2 separate regions of the Homo sapiens genome follow, and region 1 is linked to region 2. Evidence: promoter capture Hi-C in 16 types of primary human blood cells and fetal thymus (Javierre and others, 2016). All regions are on one chromosome and are shown on one strand. Each heading gives the region's core, a stretch centred on a gene start or on the middle of the fragment in contact. The rest is flanking DNA. Distances are from core to core; before and after follow the strand shown. Region 1 holds the start of ZNF501 (zinc finger protein 501). Region 2 holds the start of ZNF35 (zinc finger protein 35).

Region 1 (6,078 bases), core at 876-3,375, 82 kb before region 2:
CTAAAAGAAAATTTTTGTTAACAAAATAAACCTATTCCTTTCCCCAGAGATTATCAAGTTTGAAGTATCTTCCTTCATTCCTTTTTTCTTCACATTTTTCTATACACATATATCACTTGATTCTCTTTAAATAAATGAAATTGTTCTACAGGTTCTGCTCTGCAATTTGCTTTTATTTCCCACTAAAAAATGTGTCTTAGAGATCACTTCATGTTGGTACATATGGATCTATTGGGGCTGAGAGTCAAATGATACACACTGCTATATCTGTACAAATTGTTCACGACTACCTGCTTGGGCAATGCCTGTACCATACTGTTTGTTAAATATGTGGACTATCTTACCTAAACCTATCTTTATCTGATGTATTAACTTACAACATGGATATGCTATATACAAAAACAAACTCCAGTTGGTTTAAGCAACCAGATGTAAAACCAAAACTCTAAGCACATTTTTAATTCCTTTACTCTCATTTTTCCAAAATAAAAAGGTTTTTTTCTTATCATACAAAGAATGCATGCTCATTCTATTAAATGGTCAGCTACTCCGAAGAGGAAATCACTTGAAACCCAGCCACAGAAAATAATAGTATTTTAATGGACCTTCTTCTAGGTATCTCTTGATGCATATAAACATAAATACGTACATAAGTGTACATATATTATGCATACATATTAAACTAATCCAAATTCTTCAGGACACAGTCATATTCTCTTCACAGAGTTCCCATAACCTAAGAATACAATTTACCCAGAATTATTTTACTGAGTTTGACAGACACCCAGGCTCCATGTTGCCTTTTGATTGCCAGTGACAATGTCAGCTGCAATAACTTAAGCTCTTGTTCTAAACATGGCCAGAAGCCCATTCCATATTCTCTGAGGAAATACCTAATCACATTTGCAATGGGTTTTCCAATAATTTACTACCCATATTCCTTGATCCAACCACTACACCATTAAGGCATCATACTGAGCAGTTCAATAAGTGGTTTAAAGATGTGCTACCAGATGACTGTAGAGTCTTCAGTTCAGGTACTCTGATAAGAACTTAGTGCACTCTAGGACCTGTCCCATAACCAATTATTCCATAGCCGTTTTCACAGTGGGCCACCCTCACTGATTTGAGTAAAATGGTATCCATTTCTGTGTGGTCCTGCATTTTCTGCTGGGTCCACATTTAGTGGACATTGGTGGGTCCCACCATAGGTCTGCCATCACTTCTGATGGTAGTCTCACAACCACCACCATCCTGGGCTCTCTAGTTAGAGTTAACTTACCAAGAGACAGGTTGTTAGGAGCACAAGCAATACTGGCTTTTCTCCTGGGGGCTCTTCTCTTGAGGAAAGGCAGGAATTTGAGGCACTGAGGGAGGAAAAAGAGCCACTCATAAATTGCCAGCCTACTTCCTACACCTTCTAGATTCAGGGTAACTCAAGAACATCCCATCTCTAACCAAATGACCATTTTAAGTTCAAATGAAAGAATATCGTTATTATCCTAGAGGAGTATCTCCAGTGACAAAAATTAGTGAGTTGGCAGACTTCAGAGAGATGTGACAATGTACAAAGAGGGCAGGTCCTTCCTAGGACTAAGCATCTGGGCGTAAAAATTTCTTTATACGACATCAGGTTGGAGCCCAATGGCTCCCCTAAGTCTACTGGAAAAGCCATTGATTTCAAAAGTCAAATGCTGCAGGGCTACAATAGAGGGCAGTAGGACCAGTAATGGACTCAGTCAAGAGGTGTGGATTCTAGTCTCAGCTCTGCCACCAATTTGTTCAATGACCTAACACAGGTCACTCAGTCTCATCCATTTCTTATTTGTTAAATGAAATTGAAAAGCTAGATAATATTTAAAGCTTCTTGTAATATCAACATTCTACAAAGCTTTGATTCTATATACAGATGGGAAAAGAGCAAAAACCTCAAATCAAGCCCTTCCAGTCCATCTTTGATTGAATCTGTTTATTCATTTATTTGAAAAGTACTAAATGAGCTAGCCGTGAGGTGAATGGGTCTTGTTAAGAACGGGCTGAATCAACAGCAGGGAAACTTCCTGTCAGTTATCCTCCTACAATTAGAATTGGGGGAATTTCTCGAAAATAACAAGAGGATTGCCTTTGTGTAAGGAGTATCTGCTGTAAGATGTTAAGGACTCTTCATAAGGGAAAGGTTTCAAGAACCCTCCTAATGCAAAGAACACTGTATTCAAAGGCAGGAACCTGGTTTCCTGTCTAATACATCCCAATCCACTAGCATCTCTTAACTGACACTGAACAAACTGTTTAATTATTTTCAAACGTCTCTTTTATTTCCTCATTTGGTCAAATAAGCCAGCAATTATTTTCAAGCTTGCAGTCAACCTTTAATATTTAGCTCAAATGTGAAACTTCACACCTCTTCCTTGTGGGAAAATTTTGACTTTTCCAAGGCCCTTCCTCGTCTACATTCTCAAAGAATTTTACAAGTTTCTACTGTAGGACTTTCTAGTCTGATTACATTCTGTCTTCCACCAGCAAACTTACAAGTATGGCATGGGCTCCAGGACTAGGACTTTTGAACAAGTTACCTAACCTTTTTTTGCTCCAGTTTTTTCAACTGTTAAATGGAGACGATACCAGTAACTACTTTATAGGGTTGTCGTAATGAATAAGTGGGTTACTACATGGCAACTACTTAGAAGAATGCCAGCTGGTAAGCATTCAATAAATAGTGCCTGCTGTTAAAGTATTGAGTCTACATGTCTTCATACGGTACCTATTTTGTTGTTGTTAGAGAAGAATAAATAATGAAGGGAAGGCACTAATTCTTGCATATACTTACTTCAACCCGCACAACTTTGGGAAACGGCAAGGCAGGAAACAGTATTTACTTCTGGAAATCAGAAAACTAAAGTGCCCAGAAGTTCACTGACATGCTTAAGTATGTATAAATCGAACCCAGGTCCTCCGACTCCCAGCCTAGGGCTCTCGAACAGCCTCTCCTTTCTTCATGGCAAGTTTGCCCTAGGCCTCGGGCCTCCGCTCCACAGGCCCTCCAGGAAGAAAAACGCCCTGCTTCCCGAGGGAGGAGCTGGAATCGACCCGCGGCAGCCGGGCACAGCAGAAACCGCTCACCATGCGCTTCCCGCGGCGCTCCCCGCGGCGCTCCCCTCTCGCACCTTGCAACACTCAGGTCCCTGGGTGCTGCCCTGCGGAAAGGAGTAAGTCCCGGACGCGCCCAGCCGGCGTGACGTCAGCAGTCCGCGCCTCGGCTAATAACCACTACCGTCTCCTCTCTAGGAAGGTGGGAGCGGCTTCCGCTCGGTGGTTCCTTCCCGCACGCAGCTACGGGTTTCGGTGCTGCGCCGGTTAAGCCGGCACCAGAAACAACCTGCGACCCCACCTGGCGTGCGTCTTCCAGCACAGGGAAACGGGATGGAAGTCAGAAGGGTCGACCACAAGGAGCTCTTACTGTGCATCAGTTCATCCTGCAAGTCCGCCACATTTAGCTTCCTATGTTACTGTCCTTTGGGGATTCTCAAGGCTTTTCACAAAACTGGCTTCCACCTTCCTCACACACATCCTCATCTGGAAGAAAACTGACCTCTTCACAGAAACCCCTGACACCTTACTGACCCAGGATCTTTGTTCAGGTGGCCAAAAGAAAAAGTTCTGCAGGCCAGGCGCGGTGGCTCACTCCTGTAATCCCAGCACTTTGGGAGGCCGAGGCGGGCGGATCACCTGAGGTCAGGAGTTCAAGACCAGCCTGCCCAACATGGAGAAACCCTGTCTCTACTAAAAATACAAAAATCAGCCGGGTGTGCTGGTGGGCGCCTGTAATTCCAGCTACTCCGGAGGCTGAGGCGCGAGAATCACTTGAACCTGGGAGGGGGAGGTTGCAGTGAGCAGAGACTGAGCCACTGCACTCCAGCTTGGGTGATAGAGTGAGACTCTGTCTCAAAAACAAAACAAAACAAATCAAACACTGCTTTGGGCTCAAATCCCTGATTCTCAGTGTATGAACTTTGCAACTTTACCTCTCTGTGCCTGCTTCCTCACTTACCAGGTATAATAATGGTACCACAGGGTTGTTGTGAGGATTAAGTGAGGTTAATACGTGTGAATTACTAAGAACATCTAGTATTTTTTAAATCTTCAGTAAATGTTAGGACTATTGTCTGTGTCTCAAATCCCAGCTCCAGTACCTATTGTTCTGCCCTGACTTCACTGACCTTTCAGGGCCTCAAGGTAGCACACCCATCCCTTTCTACAAAACTTCAGATCTTGCTGGCTCTAACTCAGGAAATATTTGCACACATGGGCTCATCTTGACAGGTAAAGTCCAGAGATAAAGGCATGAGTGGAGAGTACCTTATTCACTTCCAAGCATTCCTACTGATCTGCAATCTCAGGACAATAGGGCTGTGTGCACACCATCATATCCCTAGTGTGCAGCATATAGAAGTGAACACTTGCTGTATAAATTAATGAGATGCAGCAGAGAAATTATCCATTCCAGGCCAGGCATGGTGGCTCACACCTGTAATCCCAGCACTTTGGGAGGCCATGGGGGGCGGATCACGAGGTCAGGAGTTTGAGACCAGCCTGACCAACATGGCGAAACCCCGTCTCTACTAAAGATACAAAAATTAGCCGGGCGTGGTGGTGTGCCCCTGTAATCCCAGCTACTCAGGAGGGTGAGGCAGGAGAATCACTTGAACCTGGGAGGCGGACTTGCAGTGAGCCGAGATCATGCCACTGCACTCCAGCCTGGGTGACAGAGCCAGACTCCATCTTAAAAAAAAAAAAAAATATCCATTCCAATCTTCAGATTGGCTGTTTTCCCAAAATGGAGTCCCTTTTGGACACAAATCAGGAATGCTGGTGCCACAGACTGAGGCCATCGCTATCTTTGGCTAAAAAGTGACCCTTTGTAAAATTGTCAGTTGACATGCCATGTAACAATAATGTTAAGTTTCCCTCTCCAGGTGTCACATTCTCAGCACTTCTTTGGAATCAGATAGCAAGTTCTTCCCTCCAGCCCTAACATCTCACAGGCCAGAGACCCTAGGTCTAATTATTCATTCCCCAAACATTAGGCTTCAAAGAGTCTCCAAATCAGCAGGGTGTAGTGTGTGGAGGACATTAAGTCTGGAGGGAGGCACCTGAGGTTACTAGAAACCGTAATCTGGAGTTTAATAGCAGTTTGGGCTGAGCTTCTTTCAATGAGGTGGAAAACGGATGGTAGGGATGGACACCAAAAACGTTCCAAAACACTAAAATAACCTTAGCCCTGATGTGGCCACTGGATAAATGAAACTAATGCCACATATCGTCAAGATTAGGTTTCTACCTTATGTAGAAAGTAGGGGTCAAAAGGTATCATCAACTTACTTGTCACCCTCACACTCAGGAAAGTCTGAGATTTTGAGAACAAAAAGCTTCTCAATCTTATACAAGTGAGCTCCTCACATCCTCAGGATAAGGAAAAGATTGGAGCACTAAGTGGTCAATTCTAGGCTGGATGCAGTGGCTCAGGCCTGTAAGGGAGTCCGAGTTAGGAGGATCATCTGAGGGCAGGAGTTAGAGATGAGCCTGGGTAACATAGCAAGAATCTGTCTGTACCAAAAAATAATATTAAAAAACTTTTTTTTGAGACAGACTCTCACTCTGTCACCCAGGCTGGAGTGCAGTGGCATGATCTTGGCTCACTGCAACCTCTGCCTCCTGGGTTCAAGCAATTCTCCTGCCTCAGTCTCCTTAGTAGCTGGGATTACAGGCACGCGCCACCATGCCTGGCTAATTTTCATATTTTTAGTAGAGACGGGGTTTCACCATGTTGGTCAGGCTGGTCTCAAACTCCTGACCTTGTGATCCGCCTGCCTTGGCCTCCCAAAGTGCTGGGATTACAGGCGTGAGCCACCGCACCCGGCCAGAGAATACTTTTTAAAAATTAGCCAGGCATGGTAGCTCACGCCTGTAGTCCCAACTGCTTGGGAGGCTGAGGTGAGAGAATCGCTTGAGCCTGGGAGGTCTAGGCTACAGTGAGCTAGGATCACGCTACTGCACTCCAGCCTGGGCAACAGACCGAAA
Region 2 (5,943 bases), core at 2,973-5,472:
TACCATATTGGTGTTGATCAGGTTTCAGCACAACACCTATGTTTGTCTAGTGTCTTGAGCCTGTGTGCAAAATAAGCCACTTCCCATGACAAATGCACAGGCATTTCAGCATTCCTCTTTCCAGCTTTCCTGGACACTTTCAATACCTCAGTACTCTGTTGGTCAACCTAGGAGACTGGATGCCCACCAGTCTCTGAAAAGATTTTGAGAAACCCCAATGGTCAGATTCAGAATCAGGGAACTGAACCATACCTAGAAAGTTCATGGTCCCATGAGTCTCCAGTATCTCACTCTTGGCCAGAGTCCCTGGTAATGAGTAGCTGCCAAGGGTTGAAGCAGCAGGTGCCTCCTGAGTTGCTTTCAGGACTACCGCCATATCCCAGGATATGTTCTGACCCTAGAGACAAGCAGGCACATGTTTAAGAGGGAACTGGTGGTAGGGGGTAGTGTGGTTACAATTTTGAGAATGAGAACATAATTATCTATTCCTGGAGGCCATAGAACAATTTTTAAAAACAGAAAAGGAAGCCAGAGTCTCCTCCAACCCCCAGGGTGAGTTGGGCAGAGAAACAAGCTAGCTACTTTCTTCCTTATTACTTTGATTGCACCTCACTGCTCACTCCAGAATCTAAACCTAGCTTACCAGTGAGTACATGATAAGAGGAGAGAGCATATGGGAAGAATTTTCAGAGTGAACTTTTGTGGGATCTAAAGATCAAAGCAGCAAGGTTTTGATGATATTATTACAGAAAGGCTCTGGGGGAACCTCTGCCCTCATTTGACTAGTAATGGTAAGGGGTGTGTTTGAAACATTAAGGACAGCACAGTGTACAGCCTCATGAATCAAAGTGTGGTGCAAAGATCAGCAGCAGTATCTGCATCACCTGGAAGCTTGCAAAACAAACAAACAAAGAACACAGAATCTCAGACCACCCCCAGACATCCTCAATCAGAATCTGAACTTTAACTGTTTTAACAAGAACCCCTAGGTGATTCCTATGCACATTAAAGTTTTAGAAGCTCTGGTTAGCATTGTCAAAACCTGACTGAAATTACCTGAAGAGTTTTAAAAAAACATGGATACCCAGGTCCCACCCTTAGATTCTTTTTTTTTTTTTTTTGAGGCAGGGTCTCACTCTATTGCCCAGGCTAGAGTGCAGTGGCATGAATTCGGCTCACTGCAACCTATGCCTCCAAGGCTCAATCAATCCTCCCACCTCAGCCTCCCAAGTAGCTGAGACTACAGGCACGTGCCACCATGCCAAGCTAATTTTTTGTATTTCGGCATTGCAAAACACGAGGTGTGCAATGTTGCTCAGGCTGGTCTTGAACTCCTGACCTCAAGTGATCCTCCCGCCTTGGCCTCCAAAGTGCTGGGATTACAGGTGTGAGCCACTGTGCCTGGACCACGGATTCTGATTTAATAGGAATAGAATACAGTATGGACATCAAGATTTTATAAAAAGCTCTCCAGGTTCTGTGTAGCAAAATTTGAGAACCACTGGTTTACAGAAAGTACTGAATGTCACATCAATCAGAAGGGAATGTTTCTATCCTATTACAAAAGACTGGAAGCTAGAATTGTACCCAAGAAATAAGACTCCAGGTGTGGAAGCAGAGGGGCAGAGTCCCCTCTTAAACTACTTGAGGTCTTCAAGTATCTCCTCCCCTCTTCCTCTCAGGCCCCCGTTTACCTTTTCTTCCTCTTCTGATCCATCAAGGCCTGTCTGAAGACCCTGCACTGGGGCCCAGACTTTGATGTTCTCGGAGTGCACTTGTTGGCTGGATGCCTGACCTGGGAAGTTTTCTTCTTCTTCCTCCTCCTTTTTCACCTTCACTGGGCCCCATGGGGCTAGGGCCATGGCTTCTCTCAATTCTGCAGTCATCTTCTCTGCTCAGCAGGGGAACTCCTATAGCTGGGCGCTGCCCTGCAGAGGTCAAACCCCATCCAAGCTTTATGTTTCAAAAGCTTCTTCTTGAGTTTCTTCCCAGGGCCAAGATGAGTACTGCCTACTGAGAAATCAGAAAACACTGTTAGCACCAAGGAGAGATTTGCTGGATGCCACTTAGCAAATTTGCCGGATGCCACACCGGCAAATTTCACCAGCGCCTGGCCAGGGGCCAATGTAGGACATGGAATCCTCTATTCCTCCCTCATAGGATGAAGGGGTTGGACTATAAATATGTAATATCTTCCCATAATAACCACATTGCAAACAGCTTTATATAATGTTTATTGATTTTTTCCTGATTAAAAGTTAACTTACTTTTATTGTAAAAACTTAAAAGCAGCAAATGATTAAGAAAAATCATCTCGGTCTACCTCCAAAGAGATAACCACTATACATTTTAAGATTTAAGATATTTCTTTCAAAGGAAAATCTCCAACCATACTACTAATAATTATGATTTTACAAATTCTTGTTTTTGACTTTGGGGATACATATTTTCACAATTATCATCATAGCATTTTTTAAAAAAGGATTTTACAACAAAAAGATTTTTTATTGCCAAGGATACAAAATAATGTGAACAAAAGGATCCCAAGAAAAAGACTGGGAGTCTTTATACCAACGTGTTAGCAGTGGGTAGTTAACTCTGGATGGTGTAATTACAGGTAGTTTTAAGGTTCTTTTCATTTTTTTTGTTTGATTTTTACATTTTCCATAGCTTCCAAATGTCCTGTGAGATAAAATATTACACTTAAGATTTAAAAAAAGATTACTTTCATGTTGCCATTCTTCATGCTTATTTTAAATGCTACACAATAACCTATGGTGTTGATAAATCTTCACTCTCATTGAAAAAGGATCAAGTAATACAGAAATATATAGAATTAAATATATAACCTACACACACTACACACACACACACACACACACACAAAGTACTTATCAGTTTAGATGGGAGTCCTAACCCATTTTCTCTGCATTTACATACTTATATGTTCACCTTCACACATATTGCTTATTTTTCAAAAACATACTTTAGATCATCACAGTTATATACTGTTCAGCAACCTGCATTGTTTTTTAACTCAATTTCCGTATTTCACAATAGTCTTAACAATCTTTCAATACAACACATATAGAACTACCTCATTCTGGCATAGTATTCTAAATTGTGGCTATATTATCATTTACTTAATCATATTCTATTTATGAACCATTTATTTAGTAAAAGTTTATATTTCCATTTTATTAATATTTAAAAGTTTTTCTTTGTAAATATTTTTTTTTTGCTGAATTATTCCTTTAGAATAATCAGAGAATTACTGGTTCAAGGATTTGCTGGTTGATATGTACTGTCAAATTGCTTTCCAAAAGCACCATGCCAATTCACACCCCCACTAATTGACAGTAACCCTTTATCACAGCTAAGCCAGCAGGGTTTTTGTTTTTAACCTGTGAGCAAAATAACCTTACTAGTTTGATTGCTTATGAAGAGATTGAAATTTTTCTTTCTAACCCCCTTTGAATGTTTTATTGGAAAAGGGTGCGAAATCTTATTCAATCCCCTGTTGCTGCTATTGAAGTGATCATACTCTTTTCCCCATGTCAACTTACTGGCCACTTACTGTATACACTGAATTTATTAAGTAATGCAATACTTTCATTCCTGTGACAAACCTTAATTCTGGAGGACTATTCTTTCCATCACTATCCGAATTCAATCTGGTATGAAGGTCCTTAAGACTAGTTCCACCTTGTGTATAAGACTGCCTACAGTGAGTACTCTCATCAGACTTCTGATCAGATTCTGACGGACCTCCGGTCCCAGACGGCACAGGGCCCTCTATCAAAGGCTCCCTTTCAACGTCCTTTCTCTATTTCCAAACGTGGCAATCCATTCTTTCCACGTATAGGCTCCTCGCGGCCCTGTCCCTGGGACCTATCTGGCCCCTTGGCCGGTCCGTGTGCATCCTCTCCCGGACCAGGCCCCAGGTGGGCAGCAGCCGGGATTCCGAGGCGGTGGGGAACTCACTGCCCCCCGCACCCCGACAGACAAGGCTGGTGTCCCCGGGGAAAGGACGCAGGGGCCGCTCCTAGGGCCATGGCCCCTGGGAGAGCCCCTTTTTCTCCCTCGACGTTCGTGCCCACCCCCTCCGACCCCACTCACTGTGCGCAGCTGAGAAGCCCGACCTGAGTTCACTGGCTCTGCAGCAGGAGGCTGGCTGACCGGTACTTCAGCTTCTACCGGCACGAGAACAATGACCGGACAGGAAGTGCCTCGGGATGGGCTTCCGGCTCCCCAAGTCGCCAAGCCGGCCTCTCTAGGAACCTCGGAGGTGCTTTCCTCTCGATGGGTGTCCAATGTCGCCCCAGACCAGGGATGGGGCAGAAGCGCTTAGGAGGATTGTGCTGTTGGAAGCTCTAAGTGAGCCTCAGGGAGGGGCGCATCCCAAGCAGGGATGAGACACTCAGGCGAGGCGCGCACCCAAGAGCCTGAAGCTACACAGCATTAATCTGTAGAAAGCCCTGATAATTTCCCCTCAAATGTTTTATTTTGAAAATATCAGAGTACAGAAGAGTTGAAAGTATGGCACATTGAATACCCGTATTTTCCATGTGGACTCAACAATGAACATTTTGCTATGTTTGCCTGATCTCTCAATACATATTTAAAATCATTTTTTTGAAAGTTGTAAACATCAGAACACTTCATTCCAAATACTTCAACATGCATCCCTTAAGATTAAGAATATTCTTCAAACTACCACCACCGTCACAGGTAAGAAAATCAACAAAAATTCCCTAATACCATCTAATAACCAGTCATATTCAAATTTCCCAACTGTCCTAAAACATGTATTTTATAACTTTTTTTCAAATCAGTTTCACACACTTTAGTTGGTTACAGCTCTTTAGTTTTGGGTTTTCGTTGCCATTGTTGGTTTTTACTTTTTATTTTGAAATGATAGAATCACAGGAAGTTGCAAAGATAGCACCCTTCACCCACTTTCCCCTCATGGTTACATCTTACATAAAATGAAAAAGGAAATCAACATTGGTACAGTATGTGTGTATAGGTATAGCACCTATAGATTTGTGTAACCACCACTGCAATCAAGATACACAAGTGTTCCATCACCACAAAGACCTTTCTGGTGCTACCTTTTAATAGTTCCATCCAACCCTCTCCCCATTTTTCCTCCCACCATCCCTAACCTTTGGCAACCATTAATCCATTTTTCATCTCTATAGTTTTATCATTTTGAGAATGTTATATGAATATTTTCATACAGAATATGGCCTTTTGTGATTATTTTCACTCAGCATTAATTCCCTTGAAATTTATTTGAGTTGTTATGGATATCAATAAGTCAATTTTATTGCAGAGTAACAAGTATTCCATGGTAATACATAAACCACAATTTGTTTTAACCACCTAAGGAAGGATATATGGGTTGCCTACAGGTTTCGACCATTACAAATAAAGCTGCTATGAACATTCGTATACAGGTTTTTGTGTGAACGCAAGTTTTCATTTCTCTGGGATAAATGCTCAGAAGTGCAATTCCTGAAGCATGACATATACATGTGTGGTTTTACAAGAAACTGCCAAATTATATTCCAGAGTGGCTGTACCATTTTACATTCCCAGCAATGTATGAGATCCTGTTTCTCTTCATCCTTGCCAGCAGTTACCACCATTAAAAAAAAAAAGTTAAGCTATTCTGATAGGTGATATCTCACGATTTTACTCTGCATTTCCCTCATGCCTAATGATGTTGAACATCTTTTCATTTGCTTATTTGCTATCTATACTTCAGTGAAATGTCTGTCTTTTGCTTATTTTCTAATTGTATTTACTTATTACTGTTAAATTTGGAAAGTTCTTTATGTAGTTTACATACAAATCCCTTGTTGGATATGATTTGCAAATATTTTTTCCCAACCTGTAATATCATCTTTGTAAAAAGGTCTCTTACAGGGTAAATTA

Evidence for each region. The method cuts DNA at HindIII sites, captures the fragments that hold promoters and counts their contacts. A CHiCAGO score of 5 or more calls a contact.
Region 1: a contact is called between a fragment that was not itself captured here and the fragment with the promoter of ZNF35 in region 2, in 1 of 17 cell types (monocytes). The highest score is 5.4, in monocytes.

The regions. Positions count from the first base shown.
Region 1 is chr3:44,726,765-44,732,842 of GRCh38, reverse strand. It overlaps ZNF501 (zinc finger protein 501), which reads right to left and starts at 3,208. Exons shown (of 3, transcript NM_001258280.2): 1 at 2,828-3,208; 2 at 1,283-1,367. LOC105377056 (a long non-coding RNA gene) reads left to right here and starts at 3,317. Exons shown (of 3, transcript XR_940788.4): 1 at 3,317-4,051. RefSeq lists an enhancer at 3,328-3,397. The HindIII fragment of the contact is 464 bases long and covers 1,894-2,357 here.
Region 2 is chr3:44,647,011-44,652,953 of GRCh38, reverse strand. ZNF35 (zinc finger protein 35) reads right to left here and starts at 4,222. Exons shown (of 4, transcript NM_003420.4): 1 at 4,120-4,222; 2 at 1,695-2,013; 3 at 253-397. The coding sequence starts at 1,886. It overlaps ZNF660-ZNF197 (ZNF660-ZNF197 readthrough), which reads right to left. Exons shown (of 8, transcript NR_147692.2): 8 at 4,483-5,943. It overlaps ZNF197 (zinc finger protein 197), which reads right to left. Exons shown (of 6, transcript NM_006991.5): 6 at 4,483-5,943. The region is part of intron 2 of ZKSCAN7-AS1 (ZKSCAN7 ZNF cluster antisense RNA 1); the gene reads left to right. RefSeq lists enhancers at 3,740-3,849, 3,930-4,099, 3,978-4,537. The HindIII fragment of the contact is 4,515 bases long and covers 1,972-5,943 here.